Regions from separate parts of the Homo sapiens genome. Here region 1 is linked to region 2. The links are contacts of gene promoters, found by promoter capture Hi-C in blood cells and fetal thymus (Javierre and others, 2016). All regions are on one chromosome and are shown on one strand. The core of a region is centred on a gene start or on the middle of the fragment in contact, and the rest is flanking DNA. Distances in the headings are between cores, read along the strand shown.

Region 1 (7,302 bases), core at 1,508-4,007, 750 kb before region 2:
TACACACGCTCCCCAACCCAAGCCCCAGGGAAAAGTACAAACTAGATCCCACTAGTTCTTATTATGTAACACTATACAAATCTGAATCAATTGAGTGGAGCAGGTGTAATAAATTGCAAAACACCCCAAGAGCATTATTTTATTAGCTCTATTAGGAACGTTCAATAAACAGGGTCTATCAAATAAATGAAAAAACCCAATTTGTAGGGAAGTAAATTTCATTCTCATTCCCAAGACAGAGTCCAGAAACTGGAAAAGCTTAACAAAGAGAACTGTAAGCATTCTACTATTACCTGTCACTAATAAAATAATACTTTAGAATGGTATTAACAACTGACCAAAACAAGACAAAACTCTAAATCTAGGTCACACAATAACTCCAGATATGAGCAGCTTATGTGTAAAAACTACTTCCTTATTTAAGACGATTTTATACTTCAGAGTGTTTCTGTTTGTGCTGTTTTTAAATGTTAATTTTTTTAAATAATAAAACAAATAGTCCTTCCTCACTGACCTAAGAGATGCCTTTAAAGTCCTTTAACGCTCTACAACCTTGCTCAAAATTTCTGAAAGACTGATACTTAACCACAGTCTTTTATTAGATGCGGAGGTCAACTTAAGAACCAAAGTCGCAGCACTTTGGGAGGCCGAGGCGGGCGGATCACGAAGTCAGGAGTTTGAGACCACCCTGGCCAATATGGTGAAACCCTGTCTCTACTAAAAATACAAAAATTAGCCAGGTATGGTGGCATGCACCTGTAGTCCCAGCTACTCAGGAGGCTGAGGCAGAAGAATCGCTTGAACCCAGGAGGCGGAGTTTACAGTGAGCCGAGATGGCACCACTGAACTCCAGTGCACTCCTACAGAGTGAGACTCCGTCTCCAAAAAAAAAAAAAAAAGAAAAAAAAGAACCAAAGTTAGGGTTCTCCACAGAGTATAAGTGTAACCAGTGCACTTTCAGTTAATTCAGAATGGAAAAAAATGCTTTCTCAGATAAATGTTGCCTTACTTTGCTGAGAGATTTGGTAACTGCAATTAAACAGTGATACCACAGCCACAGCAACATAAAATACTGCTACAGCTAACTAACTGGGCCTGTCAGTTCCTTATTTTAGCACAGTAGGTAGTATAGGAATGCCTGCTAGTTTTAAATGATGGGTAATGGTAACACATCAGCAACTGTCTTGCCCCACTGTAACAAGAAAAATGAGTTTCATTACAAGTTCTCTCTTCTGGAAAATCCAAAGCCCTTTACAGATATCTTTACAACAACATCTCAAATACAATAATGATGTTGAGAGATATTATTCCACATTTACAACAAACAGACAGTAGTGTGGTTTCAAACAATCCAATAACCCATTATCTTGCTTGGTGCAGTTTTAGAAAGAATATCGAGGATAAAAAAGATTCTATTATATAGTTTAATGTGTCATTTCACTGTGAGAGCCAAGCCTATAGAATATAGAATATAGCCTTCTGAGGAAAAGACCTACTATAATGCCTCAGATTTAAATAGTATTTTACAGCCTACAAAGCACTTATTCATTTTACAGTCTCATATGAAGATTGCATTCTAGTCAAGGGACCAAGTCTATCATCAAGCTGTAAGGCCAAAGTCAGTAACTATCTCAACCACACAAATATTCATAGAATGCCCAGACATCCAAATAGGAAGAGAGAAAGTCAACTACCCCTGTTTGCAGACGACATGATCCTATATCTAGAAAACCCCAGAGTCACATAATTAAAGAGCTTCTGCACAGCAAAAGAAACTATCATCAGAGTGAACAGGCAACCTACAGAATGGGAGAAAATGTTTGCAATCTACCCATCTGCCCAAGTCTAATATCCAGAATCTACAAGGAACTTAAACAAATTTACAAGAAAAAATCAAACAGCCCCATTAAAAAGTAGGCAAAGGATATGAACAGACACTTCTCAAAAGAAGACATTTATGTGGCCAACAAACATAGAAAAAAGCTCACCATCACTGATCATTACAGAAATGCAAATCAAAACCACAATGAGATACCATCTCACACCAGTCAGAATGGTGATTATTAAAACGTCAGGAAACCATAGATGCTGGTGAGGCTGTGAAGAAACAGGAACGCCTTTACACTGTTGGTGGGATGTAAATTAGTTCAACCTTTGTGGAAGACAGTGTGGCGATTCCTCAAGGATCTAGAACTAGAAATAATACCATTTAACCAAGCAATCCCATTACTAGGTATATACCCAAAGAATATAAGTCATCCTACTATAAAGACACATGTACACATATGTTTATTGCAGCACCATGTACAATAGCAAAGACATGGAACCAACCCAAATGCCCATCAATGATAGACTGGATAAAGAAAATGTGGTACACGTACACCATGGAATACTATACAGTCATAAAAAAGGAATGAGATCATCTCCTTTGCAGGGACATGGATGAAGCTGTAAGCCACCATCCTCAGCAAACTAACACAGGAACAGAAAACCAAACACTGCATGTTCTCACTCATAAGTCAGAGTTGAACAATGAGAACACATGGACACAGGGAGAGGAACACCACACACCAGGGCCAGTCAGGGGGTGGGGGGGTGAGGGGAGGGAGAACATTAGAAGAAATAGCTAATGCATGCAGGGGTTAAAACCTAGATGACGGGTTGATAGGTGCAGCAAACCACCATGGCACACGTATACCTACATAACAAACCTACACATTCTGCACTTGTATCCCAGAACTTAAAGTAAAATTAAAAAAAAAAAAGAAAGAAAACCCCATAGTCTCAGCCCAAAAGCTCCTTAAGCTAATAAACAACTTTAGCAAAGTCTCAGGATATAAAATCAATGTGCAAAAATCACTAACATTCCTATACACCAACAACAGTCAGGCCAAGAGCCAAACCAGGAATGCAGACCTATTCACAATTGCCCCCCACCACACACACACACACACACACACACACACACACACACACGTAGGAATACAGCTAACCATGGAGGTGAAGGATCACTACACGAAGAACTATAAAACACTGCTCAAAGAGATCAGAGATGACACAAGCAAATGGAAAAACATCCCATGCTCACGGATAGGAAGAATCAATATCATTAAAATGCCCATACTGCCCAAAGCAATTTACAATTTCAATGATATTCCTATTAAACTACCACTGACATTCATCACAGAATTAGAAAAAACTGTTTCAAAATTCATATGGAACCAAAAAATAGCCCAAATAGCCAAAGCAATCCTAAGCAAAAGAACAAAGCTGGAGGCATCATGCTACTCGCTACTCATCTTCAAACTACACTACAGGGCTACAGTAACCAAAACAGCATGATACTGGTACAAAAACAGACACATAGACCAATGGAACAGAACAGAGAACCCAGAAATAATGCTGCACACCTACAACTATCTGATCTTCGACAAATCTGACAAAACAAGCAATGGGAGAAGGATTGCCTATTCAATAAATGGTGCTGGGATATCTGGCTAGCCATATGCAAAAGATTGAAAGTGGACCCCTTCTTTACACCATATACAACTGAAGATGGATTAGAGACTTAAATGTAAAACCAAAAACTATAAAAACCCTGCAACACAACCTACATAATACCATTCAGGACACAGGAATGGGCAAAGATTTCATGATGAAGACACCAAAAGCAACTACAATAAAAGCAAAAATTGACAAATAAAATCTAAACTAAAGAGCCTCTGCACAGCAACAGAAACTATCAACAGAGTCAACAGAAAACCTACAGAATGGAGACAATTTTTGGAAACTTTGCATCTGACAAAGATCTAATATCCAGCATCAATAAGGAACTTAAACAAATGTACAAGTTAAGTACCTCATATTATCTGTATGAATGGAGTTCAGGGTTCTACCAATGTGGAAAAAAATTGTCTGTGAGCAATGACACAGTAGTACAAGAAAGATTTGGTTGGGAAATTTTTCAGAATAATATTGGCAGGCAAAATGAAACTTAACAGAATTGTAACTCGAAGTGATTAGAAATACTTCAGCACAATTTTATGTGTCTGCAGTGGCTCACGCCTAGAATTCCAGCACTCTGGGAGGCCGAGGGGGACAGATCACTAGAGGCCTGAAGTTTGAGACCAGTCTGGACAAGATGGCGAACTCTGTCTCTACTAAAAATACAAAACTTAGCCGGACATGATGGCATGCACCTGTAATCCCAGCTACTTGGGAGGGTGAGGCATGAGAATCACCTGAACCCAGGAGGCAGAGGTTGCAGTCAGCTGAGATCCCGTCCCTGCACTCCAGCCTGGGCAACAGAGCGAGACTCTGTCTTAAAAACAAAAAAACAAAACAAAAAAAAAAGAATCCCAGCGTATTTGGAGGGTGGTGATCTAGAAAAAGAGAGGTGGAAGTTCAGATTTGAGGGGTAAGAAAGAGCCATAGCATCAAACTTTGTAAATGAAGGTAATACACTTAGATTGTATTTTCAATGCAATGGAAGCCACTGCAGGAAGTCATACAAAATCTGGACTTGTATTCACTAAGTATTAAGAGTCCAAACTGTAAAAAACATGTATACTCATTAAGTCCATGTATTATCTTGGTGCTACACTTTGCACTCAATGAAATTCATCGTAAGACACAGAATCCCAGAGCTAGAAGGAAACTTAATGAATGTAAAGCCATTATTTTACATATACAAAAACTCAAGCTCAGAGAAAAATGCATCATTCGGATTGCTTTATTAATGGCTGAGAAAAATATCTCCAAAAATAATTAAGGGCAACTAAGATGTCTGGGATACATTCTAAACTCAAAGCTGACATTAATCAAAAAATTGTCCTTTTATATATTCATAAACTGAACCACCATGCTTTAGATGCATATGGCCCATCATAGAATATATAAGATCTTGTAACAGCCTCTGACCACAATCTAAAGCTGCAAACTTAGATGGGGCACATACTCAGTAATGCATTTGATCAATTGTATTGTTCCAATCCCAGCTCACTAAATACACCGTAACTTGGATATTCATTCATCCAGTGAATGATAAGGACCTACTTTGTACAAGGAATTAACACTGGAAGATGAAGAACTAGAATCTAGAAGAAGTAATAAAACATACATATACAAAAAAAGATGCATATATACACAAACACTGACCCACATATATCACACACATATACCATAATTCATATAAGATAAAGTAACTGCAGGCATGCCATAAACAGCAAAATAACTAGAATTAGAACTGAAGCTTTAAGATGTGACTGAATTGTTGTAATTCCTTGTAAAACTTGAACGGATAAAGAGCTGTTTCTTTTGATGAGCAAAGAAAGTGTTTTGAGATAGAATCTACTCCTGGTGAAGATGCTGTGAACATTGCTGAAATGACAACAAAGGATTTAGAATATTACATAAACTTCATTGATAAAGCCGTGGCAGGGTGATAAAATTGACTCCAATTCTGAAAGTCCTACTGTGGGTAAAATGCTATCAGACAGCATCACATGATACAGAGAAATCTTTCTCTGGAAAGGAAAACCAATCCATGTGGCAAACTTTACGGTTGTCTTATTTGAAGAAATTGCCACAGCTACCCCAACCTTTAACAACCAGCACCCTGATCAGTCAGCAGCCATAAACATCAAGGCAAGACTCTCTACCAGCAAAAAGATTATGACTTCCTGAGGCTCAGATAGCATTTTTTTTTTTAGCAATAAAGGATTTTTAAATTAAGGTATATACATTGGTCTTTTAGATATAATGCTACTGCACTCTTAATATAATACAATATAGTGTGACTATAACTTTTATATGCACTGGGAAACCAAAAATTTCATGGGACTCACTTTATTGCAGTGGCCGGGAACCAAACTTGCAATATCTCCAAGGTAAGCCTGTCTTTTCTGCAGCTGAAAGGATCAGAAGGCAGCATGCCAGCTGGTCCTTGATAGATGGGTGGGATTTACAGATAGGGAAGAACATTTTAGACAACAGGCACAACAGGGGCAAAAGACCTATGTAAACTGCAACCAGACCCTCTAGAAGGGAAATCCAATTTTATGTAAATTTTAAGTAAATTAAAATCTAAATGTTAAGTAAATTTAGAGCAAAAATTCTCAACATGAAAAAATGCCAAAACTGAGCTGCAGCCTAAGTTCTATATCACGTCAACAATATAAGAGTTTTACATCTGTATTCATGAGCTTAATTAACACAAAAAAAAGTCTTCTAAATAACTTGACCAGGCACGGTGGCTCACACCTGGAATCCCAGCACTTTGGGAGGTGGAGGCAGTAGGACTGCTTGAGCCCAGGAGTTCAAGAACACAGGGGACCCTGTCTCTACAAAAAAAAAAAAAAAAAAAAAAAATTAGCCACGCACTGTGGTGTGCACCTGTAGTCTCAGCTACTAAGACTGAGGTGGCAGGCTGAGACAGGAGGATTGCTTGAGCCTGCAGGTTGAGGCTGCAGTGAGCTGTGACTGCACCACTGCACTCCAGCCTGGGTGACAGAGTGAAACCTTGTCTCAAACATAAGTAAATAAATAACTTTAAGCCTAGATCAGGCTATTACATTTGTTTTCCAAAAGGAATGAAAACGGATTTCAAAGATCTTTGAAAACTTGCTTTTCAGCAAATAGAAAAAGAATTGGAAAATCACTTATGCTGCTTTTTGCAAAAACAGCAAAGTTGCCCGTTTTAGGAAAAGGTGTTTAAATTCAGCAGCAAAAAACTTTATAACATAGGGTAGATGAGAAAGTGCCATCAACACCACTGTATAAGTTATGGTACTATTTTTTAAGACTCACCTATTTTAATAATATCCTGCATGACTGTGCCAATCTACAATTAATTTTCTGCCCTTTGGAAAAGTATTGCTTTATGATATTAATTCACTTGAAAACTGACAAGTAATATTATTTGGGGTCTTTTAAAAACCTTGTTAAAATTTCATTCTATTTTCAGTAAATCATAAAACTATTTTAACACTATTGTATCCAAATCAAGAGCAGAGCCTCAAAAATCAGTTACCAGCAGCTGGGCATGGTGGCACACACCTGTAGTACTCGCTACTAGGGAGGCTGAGGTGGGAGGATCCCTTAAGCCCAGGAGTTCAAGCCCAACCTAGGTAACATACTAAGACTCTCTTAAAAAACAAACAAAAAAAAAAACTATTATCAAAGCTAGCCACTATGTACTATTCCTATTATGTTCGTTTTCTCCCCTTTCTTTTTTAAAATTCATTTTCATTACAAGATGTGATTGCCAATGTTAAGGTTTCTCTGTATGGTCTAAGAGAATAC
Region 2 (6,677 bases), core at 354-2,853:
ACTTGAAAACTAAATGAGAGTAGTATTCATCAACAGAAAGCTAAGCGGGCAAAATGCTTTCCCCGCTTTTCCCCCATGACAAGCAAGATTAACCAAAAATATTACAGTTATTTAAAAGAAAAAAAGAAAGAAACCAAATGGGAAGAGAATAGAATGCAATCACGCTACCATTAACAATTTATGTTTTTCTGTTCTTGGATACCTTTTTGAGTGCCTGAGAATTTTAGTCGCAAGGAATGAAAAAAACTGTTTTCTCATTTCGAGTTTTTATTGGTCAATAGCTTCCTAACCGAAAACTCTGCAGTCCTAACACAATATTTTGTATCCATTTTCAAAAATCCAGTTCTGGGCATAAAATAGAATTAATGCTCAAGTCAAAAACTTTGTGTTTAGAAGATAAAATATTAGGAACCATGAGTATGAGAAAAACAAAAACTGTTTTCTGTATTTTTCCCTTCCTCTCTCTGCAAAACTTCTCTATTTGATAAGGGACAGCTAGCTTAAATTTACCACAAAGTAAAACATGAGCAAATCCCCTGGAACGAGGAGAACTTTCGCACAGGGCAATTCACTCGAATGTGACATCAGCATTCCTTCTGAGTCATAGTCTGGTCCCCACCCTTTTCTCCCAGGCGACACCAGGCTCCGCATAACCCGGGAGTGGCTCAGGTAGGGCCGTCGGTTCCAGTGCCTGCGAGGCAGCAGCCAAGCTGAAAATGTCTCCCTGCGCTGAGACGCTGGTGACAACCGCCCTTTGGGACTACCTGCCAAACAAGGAGAATGCGCTCTTTGACAGATAATTCCCTAAGAGGGAGGCACTGCCTCGGTCGGTAGACAAGTAATGAATGACCGAAAAAAAAATCACATTAGAAGTTATCACCAGCACGGGTGCGAAGGCAGTGCATTAAATCAACACTCATTTTAGAGCGCCCCAGACAGCCCAGCCGGAAGGGAGGAGATCAGAGCTGTCAAAGCACAGCAGAGCCCCAAACCACAAAGGCTTAATGAAATTCAACTTCCTGAGCCAGGAAGTGTCACGGTCTCGCCCGCACTCGCCCTAAGCTCGTCCTTTCCTTTTGAGGAGGCACAGGCAGAGCTGAAACATCTTAAGTAAAGTTTCCAACACCTACAACCACTGGGATTCCGTGAGACTGGAGAGAAGAGTCCCGCGCCCGCCCTCGCTCGCGCTTCCAATTCTGTCGCTCCCGAGTGTGGGGAGCTGGCGGGGCCGCCGAGCACCTCCTCTACCCAGGGGGCCAGGTCCCTGGGCCCGGGGCACCGCAGACCCAGAGCCGGGCTCACACCGGGGGGCCCGCGAGCCCCACCCACCTCGGCACCTCCGGCCGCCGCGCGCCGCGCGACCCGCGCAGGTGAAGCAGCCGCCGCCCGCCACGAGCGCCCCCCTACCTTCTTCACTTTGTTTTCCAGGTCCATGTTAACGCGTCCTATGGGTCCCCTCCTCCTCCTATCCGGGATCCCACGGCCGGGTTCAGCTGGCCTCCGGCTCCGCTGCGAACACGGGAAACCTGCGGAACTCCCGCGGCGCCGCTCAACAGCCACTCGCCCGGCGCCGTCGAACTTCCGCCGCCCAGTCCGCCGCAGCGGGCCTGCGGCCCGGACCCGGGAACAAAGGGGGCCGGGCAGCCAATGGCAGCCGGGCAGCTCCGGGCCGCCGCCAATCACCGAGCGCCGCACGCACCTTCGCGGCCCGAGCGCGGCGCTGGCAAGGTGAGAGGCGGGGCGGCGTCCGAGGCGGCGCCCTGCTGGGCAAGCTCAGTGACCCTGACCTGGTCTCCGAAGGGATTCTCTGGGCGTCCACGGGCCGGCTTCTAAAGAGCTGGGATCCCCAGCCTCCCTCTAGCTGAAGATGGAGAAGAACTTTTTCCATTTGGCAATTTGTACCTGTGTTTGCCCAGGACTTTTTATTTGGGTCAAGGGGAATAGTTATCCCAATACTAACTTCTCAGTTTATTTTCAGGGTAAAGAGAGAAAAAAAAGAGAGAGAGAGAGATTGTAGGGATCGTTAGGGATTCCTGTGATGGACCTTGGGCACTAAATTCAATATTGCGTTGTGGAGATGCCCTTTCCTCAATTGCTTTTTTCCACAATCCCAAATACTGTCAAGAAACCGTATCTTACATCCCTAAAGTCAGCGAAGATTCTTAGATTGTTTTCTGAGCATTGGGTTGTTCAAAAGTAAAGATGATGTGAATCACTTCAGAAACAGGTTGTGTCATTCCTTTGGAAGCAGAGGGTTGCCCTTTGTCTCTGTGTGAGATGGTGCTAGGCCTATCGCGTGCTCAGGCTTTGATGAAGCAGAGTCATCACATTGGTGCACCAAAGCTGAATTCATTTCATGCCCTAATTCAGGAGCAATTGCATCTAATACCATCAGATTGGTCGGTCTGGAAGGGAGCCTAACGATTACTTAGTCTAGCTTCCTCACTTTGCAGGGAACTGAGGACTCCAGAGGTGCAGGGACCTGCCTAATGTCTTAGCCTGTTGGGGACAGAGGCATTGCTCATGAATCTAAACAACTTCTCAAAGATGTTTGGGGCTGGAAGCACAGCATGTTGACTAAGGAAAAAGAGCAGTCAATTTTCTTCAATTTGTGGTTATGGCAAAAAATAACATTGCCCAGACAGCAGGTGACCTAATTTGGCACCTACTTTTAAAAATAACAAAACAATATAAAACAAACAAACAAAAATTCCCTAATAATGCAGATATTCAGGTCCAGATGTATGTCTGCCTTGCCTCGAGAAATTTGGTAGCTAAAAATATCCAAAATTCATTTTAGCCAATACTTGCAACTCTGCTTACTTGATTATTTGTTAACACAGAGCATTGATTTATAATGTGCATGTTTCCTTTATCCTATTAAGAATTAAAACTGAAATTACCAAAATGAGTTATGCATTTTTCTTTTCAGCTGATGTAAAACTTTTCTGTGTCATTTTCCCAAACCACCTTGAAAGGTGTGGGCCCCTGCAAAGTCTGCCCGTTGTAAGTGTATAGGATCATGAGGTCTAGCTATGACAAGGCAATTTTGTTTCTTTCAGAGAGCTTAACAGATGGAAAATGTCCAGTAAAGCAATTTAAATAAGGCATCAAACAAATGTTGTAACATAAATTTTGGACCCTTATTTGATGAGGTTGCAGAGATGACACTAAGAAAACCATCTGGAAACTTTTTTTTTTTAACTGTCAACTTCTGCCTTTCTCCCATTCTTCCTTCCCAACCCTCTCAGCATTACATTGTGTGTGTGTATCATTGGCAAGGATGGAAATAGAAATTCAGTGAGTTTTATCTGGAATTATCACTGTGCCAATTATATAAAAATAATTATAGATTATGTATAAATTATAAAAATAAAATTGAGGTAGATAAGTGTTAAGAGAGTTAAATTGTAAGTTTTTGTTCAGTTATTCAGGTGTTAAGCTACAGTTATTAAGGAGGTAGAACTGGCATGGTTTGATGAGTACATGTAGTTGATGACAGTGGAATGAATAGAAGATGGCACACATTTCTATCTTGATCACCTCTATGGATAGCTCAGAAAGAGAGAAAATATAGGATGATGGTCAGGGTTTTGTTCAGTTGTGCATTCTTTGGGGCTGGTGGTGGACATAAAGGATACAACTTTTAATATATTGAGTTTGAGACTGAGACATTGAAATGAGTATCCAAATATACATCTTGAATGCTGATTTAGGAGTTCACATCCTACATAAATAAATAATTAAAGGCCAAGAAGTGAGATGAGCCTCGGAGACAGTAAAATAAAAGAGAAGAATATCAAAGACACCAAGTGAGCAAGGCTGAGCAAGAGAAACACATAAAAGAGATAAGGGCTAGATTAAGGGTAAGAAAAAAATTAGGAGTCAAATCCCTAAAAGCAAGAAAGGAAATTGAAGAAGAAATTAGTTAACAATGTCAAATTGTAGAAAAGGGTCAAATGCCCTTCGGATTTAACAAAAAGGAGATCATTGGTGACTTTGGAAAGTGCATTTTTGGTGCAGTTGTGGGGAAAGATATTACTTTATAATTTTATCTCCCTTTGTTTCTACCAGAGTGCTTTAGTCAATGTTGGACTTGACTTTTCCACAAAACTTATGGACACATCAGCCAAATAAATGCCCAACTCTGCTGTTTCAATCAAGTAGAGAGGAAATCAATATACTATACTGGATAATACTAAGGAATGGTCTTAAGATCTTTATCTTTAGAGAAGTAAATGAAAATACTAGATTTTACACATGTGTGCAGGCACACACAGAGAGAGAGAGACAGACAGAGACAGAGACAGAGGAGAGAGAGAGAGAGAGACTGAAGTTCTCTGTATAGGCCAAACAAAATATTTATTCAGGTTAAATTCAGTTTCTATGCTATCAAATTACAATATCCGATGAGGGAAATGTGTTAAACTTTTATGTACCCTTCATCACTGGAGAGATGTAAAAATACATAAGACATTCCCTTTGTTCTTAAGCAGTTTACAGATTAGTATGGGAGTAGCAGGTGTGTAAGAGTAATGAAATGTTACAGGTAGAGGGAAGCACACGTGAGAGTCAGGGAGAAGGTGGTATTGGGATTTGTAAAATCTTTAGAAAAGAGTAACCTTGGCTTAGTCTTGGAAGATGAATAAGTGTCTTAGTTAAAACTCTTGATTGCAAGTTATATTAGGCCGTTCTTGCACTACTATAAAGAAATACCTGAGACTGGGTAATTTATAAAGAAAAGAGGTTTAATTAGCTCACAGTTCTACAGGCTGTACAGGAAGCATACCTTCTGCATTGGCTTCTGGGGAGGCCTCAGGAAGCTTACAATCATGGCAGAAGGCAAAGTGGGAGAAAGCACTTCACATGGTAAAAGCAGGAGCAAGAGAGACAGAATGTGTTGGTGGGGGAGGATGAGGTGTGCCACACAATTTTAAATGACCAGCTCCCCTGTGAACTCAGAGAGAATGCTCATTTATTGCCAAAGGGATGGCCCAAGCCACTCATGATCCAAACACCTCCCATTGGGCCCTACCTCCAGCATTACGGATTACAATTCAACATGAGATTTGGGTGGGGACAAATATACAAACCATATCACAAGTAATAGTAACCCTCGAGCTAGTTTACTTTTAAAAAGATGGCATTTTATTTTAAGGATACAGAGGCTTGTTGCAAAACTCAAGGGCCAGATGCATCTGCGACTAGACCAGGCACTTGCCAACATCTGGAACAAGGAATCTACTCCTTCACTGGGGTTATGTGGTCTCTCATCTTGCTGCTTGGCCTCCATCAGCTTTAGTTCTTTCTCTTTGAAGACTCTGTTTTCCTGCACACATGGGCAACCAATAAAGGCAGTCTCAGCTCGTTAATTGACATCACCCTAGTTCAAGCAAAATACCCAGTTTGGGATTTCAACCCCTCTAACAAAAAGACTTTAAATAGCCCAGCTTGGATAAGCTTAAACTTCTGATTCAATTAGCTGAAGCTGGTGCCAGTTGAGAGACACAAAGGACAACACATAGACTAAAGCCCAAACTTATAGGTAGGACAAATCTCACAGAGAGGGAGTAATAAGAGTTTTCCAAATGCCTCCAAAGATATCTATCTCTGTTTCAGATGTTACAAGGAAATTAGCAAAGGAAGAGGCTTAGTAAGTACAAGCAGAAGATTTTTCTTTCTGTCGATATTGGAGAACTTTTTCCCTTGACTTTTATTATAGGTTTGGGAGTACATCTGCAGGTTTGTTACATGATTAAATTGCATGTTGCTGGGGTTTGGTTTACAAATGATTTCATCAGCCAGGTAGTGAGCATAGTACACAACTGGTACCTTTTTGAACCTCACCCTCCTCCCACCCTCTACCCTCAAGTAGGTACCATTGTCTATTGTTCCCCTCTGTGTGTTCTGGTGTACTCAATGTTTCTGAACATTTCAAAAACTATTTAAATTACAGAAACCCCACTTGGGCAAAAAGTTGTAGATGTTTATTTTATTGCTAGGAATGGGGGTAGATAATGAATAGGACAAGTCTAAAGAATGGAAGATTAATCAGGAGATTCTAGCTATAGCCCACAAGAAATATGATGAGGGCCAAAGTAAAGCAGTAGCAATGACTGTGGAGAGTTAGAAGGATTTATCAATGATATTAAACAGGTAGAAAATATTGGACTTGACTGATTCTTGAAAAGAGAGAGGATAAGGAATCCATTAGGATTCTATTTTCTATCTCTTAGGAATCTATTTTGGGTGACCAGTTTGGTGGATATAACACACACCTTAAGGCAGGAAACAAAAGTGGAGAAGAAAATTTGATTGAGAAAGATAATGGGTTTTGTTTTGTGTGTATTGATTTGGCAAGGCCAATAGGATATGAGTCTGGTGGACAAAAGAAACATCAGGGCTGAAGATACAGATGATGCTACATACACAAGTACACATACATAAACATATATACATATACACACATAAATACACATACGGAGTAAACACTACATATGCCAGGGAAAATAATTATTGAAAACTTTTCTATACTAGATGAGGTAAACATTTCAAGATGAAAATGATACACCTGTCTCATCAATTATTAATGTGGTCCCAGGAGGCCTCTTTAGAGATGTTAATCATTTATTAACACCTGTCATAGGAACTCCTTTGTGAGCCTGACACAGCTATTA

Evidence for each region. The method cuts DNA at HindIII sites, captures the fragments that hold promoters and counts their contacts. A CHiCAGO score of 5 or more calls a contact.
Region 1: a contact is called between a fragment that was not itself captured here and the fragment with the promoter of TES in region 2, in 1 of 17 cell types (activated CD4 T cells). The highest score is 6.4, in activated CD4 T cells.

Annotation. Positions count from the first base shown.
Region 1 is chr7:116,957,230-116,964,531 of GRCh38, reverse strand. All of the region lies in intron 1 of ST7 (suppression of tumorigenicity 7), which reads right to left. It overlaps ST7-OT4 (ST7 overlapping transcript 4), which reads right to left. Exons shown (of 5, transcript NR_002329.2): 5 at 4,715-5,379. Among named protein-coding and RNA genes, the nearest start is that of ST7-AS1, 6.5 kb to the right of the region's middle. RefSeq lists a silencer at 1,124-1,173. The HindIII fragment of the contact is 4,993 bases long and covers 261-5,253 here.
Region 2 is chr7:116,205,465-116,212,141 of GRCh38, reverse strand. TES (testin LIM domain protein) reads right to left here and starts at 1,603. Exons shown (of 7, transcript NM_015641.4): 1 at 1,408-1,603. The coding sequence starts at 1,434. RefSeq lists an enhancer at 675-914 and silencers at 1,275-1,364, 1,505-1,704, 1,459-1,721, 1,755-1,884. The HindIII fragment of the contact is 9,726 bases long and covers 1-4,825 here.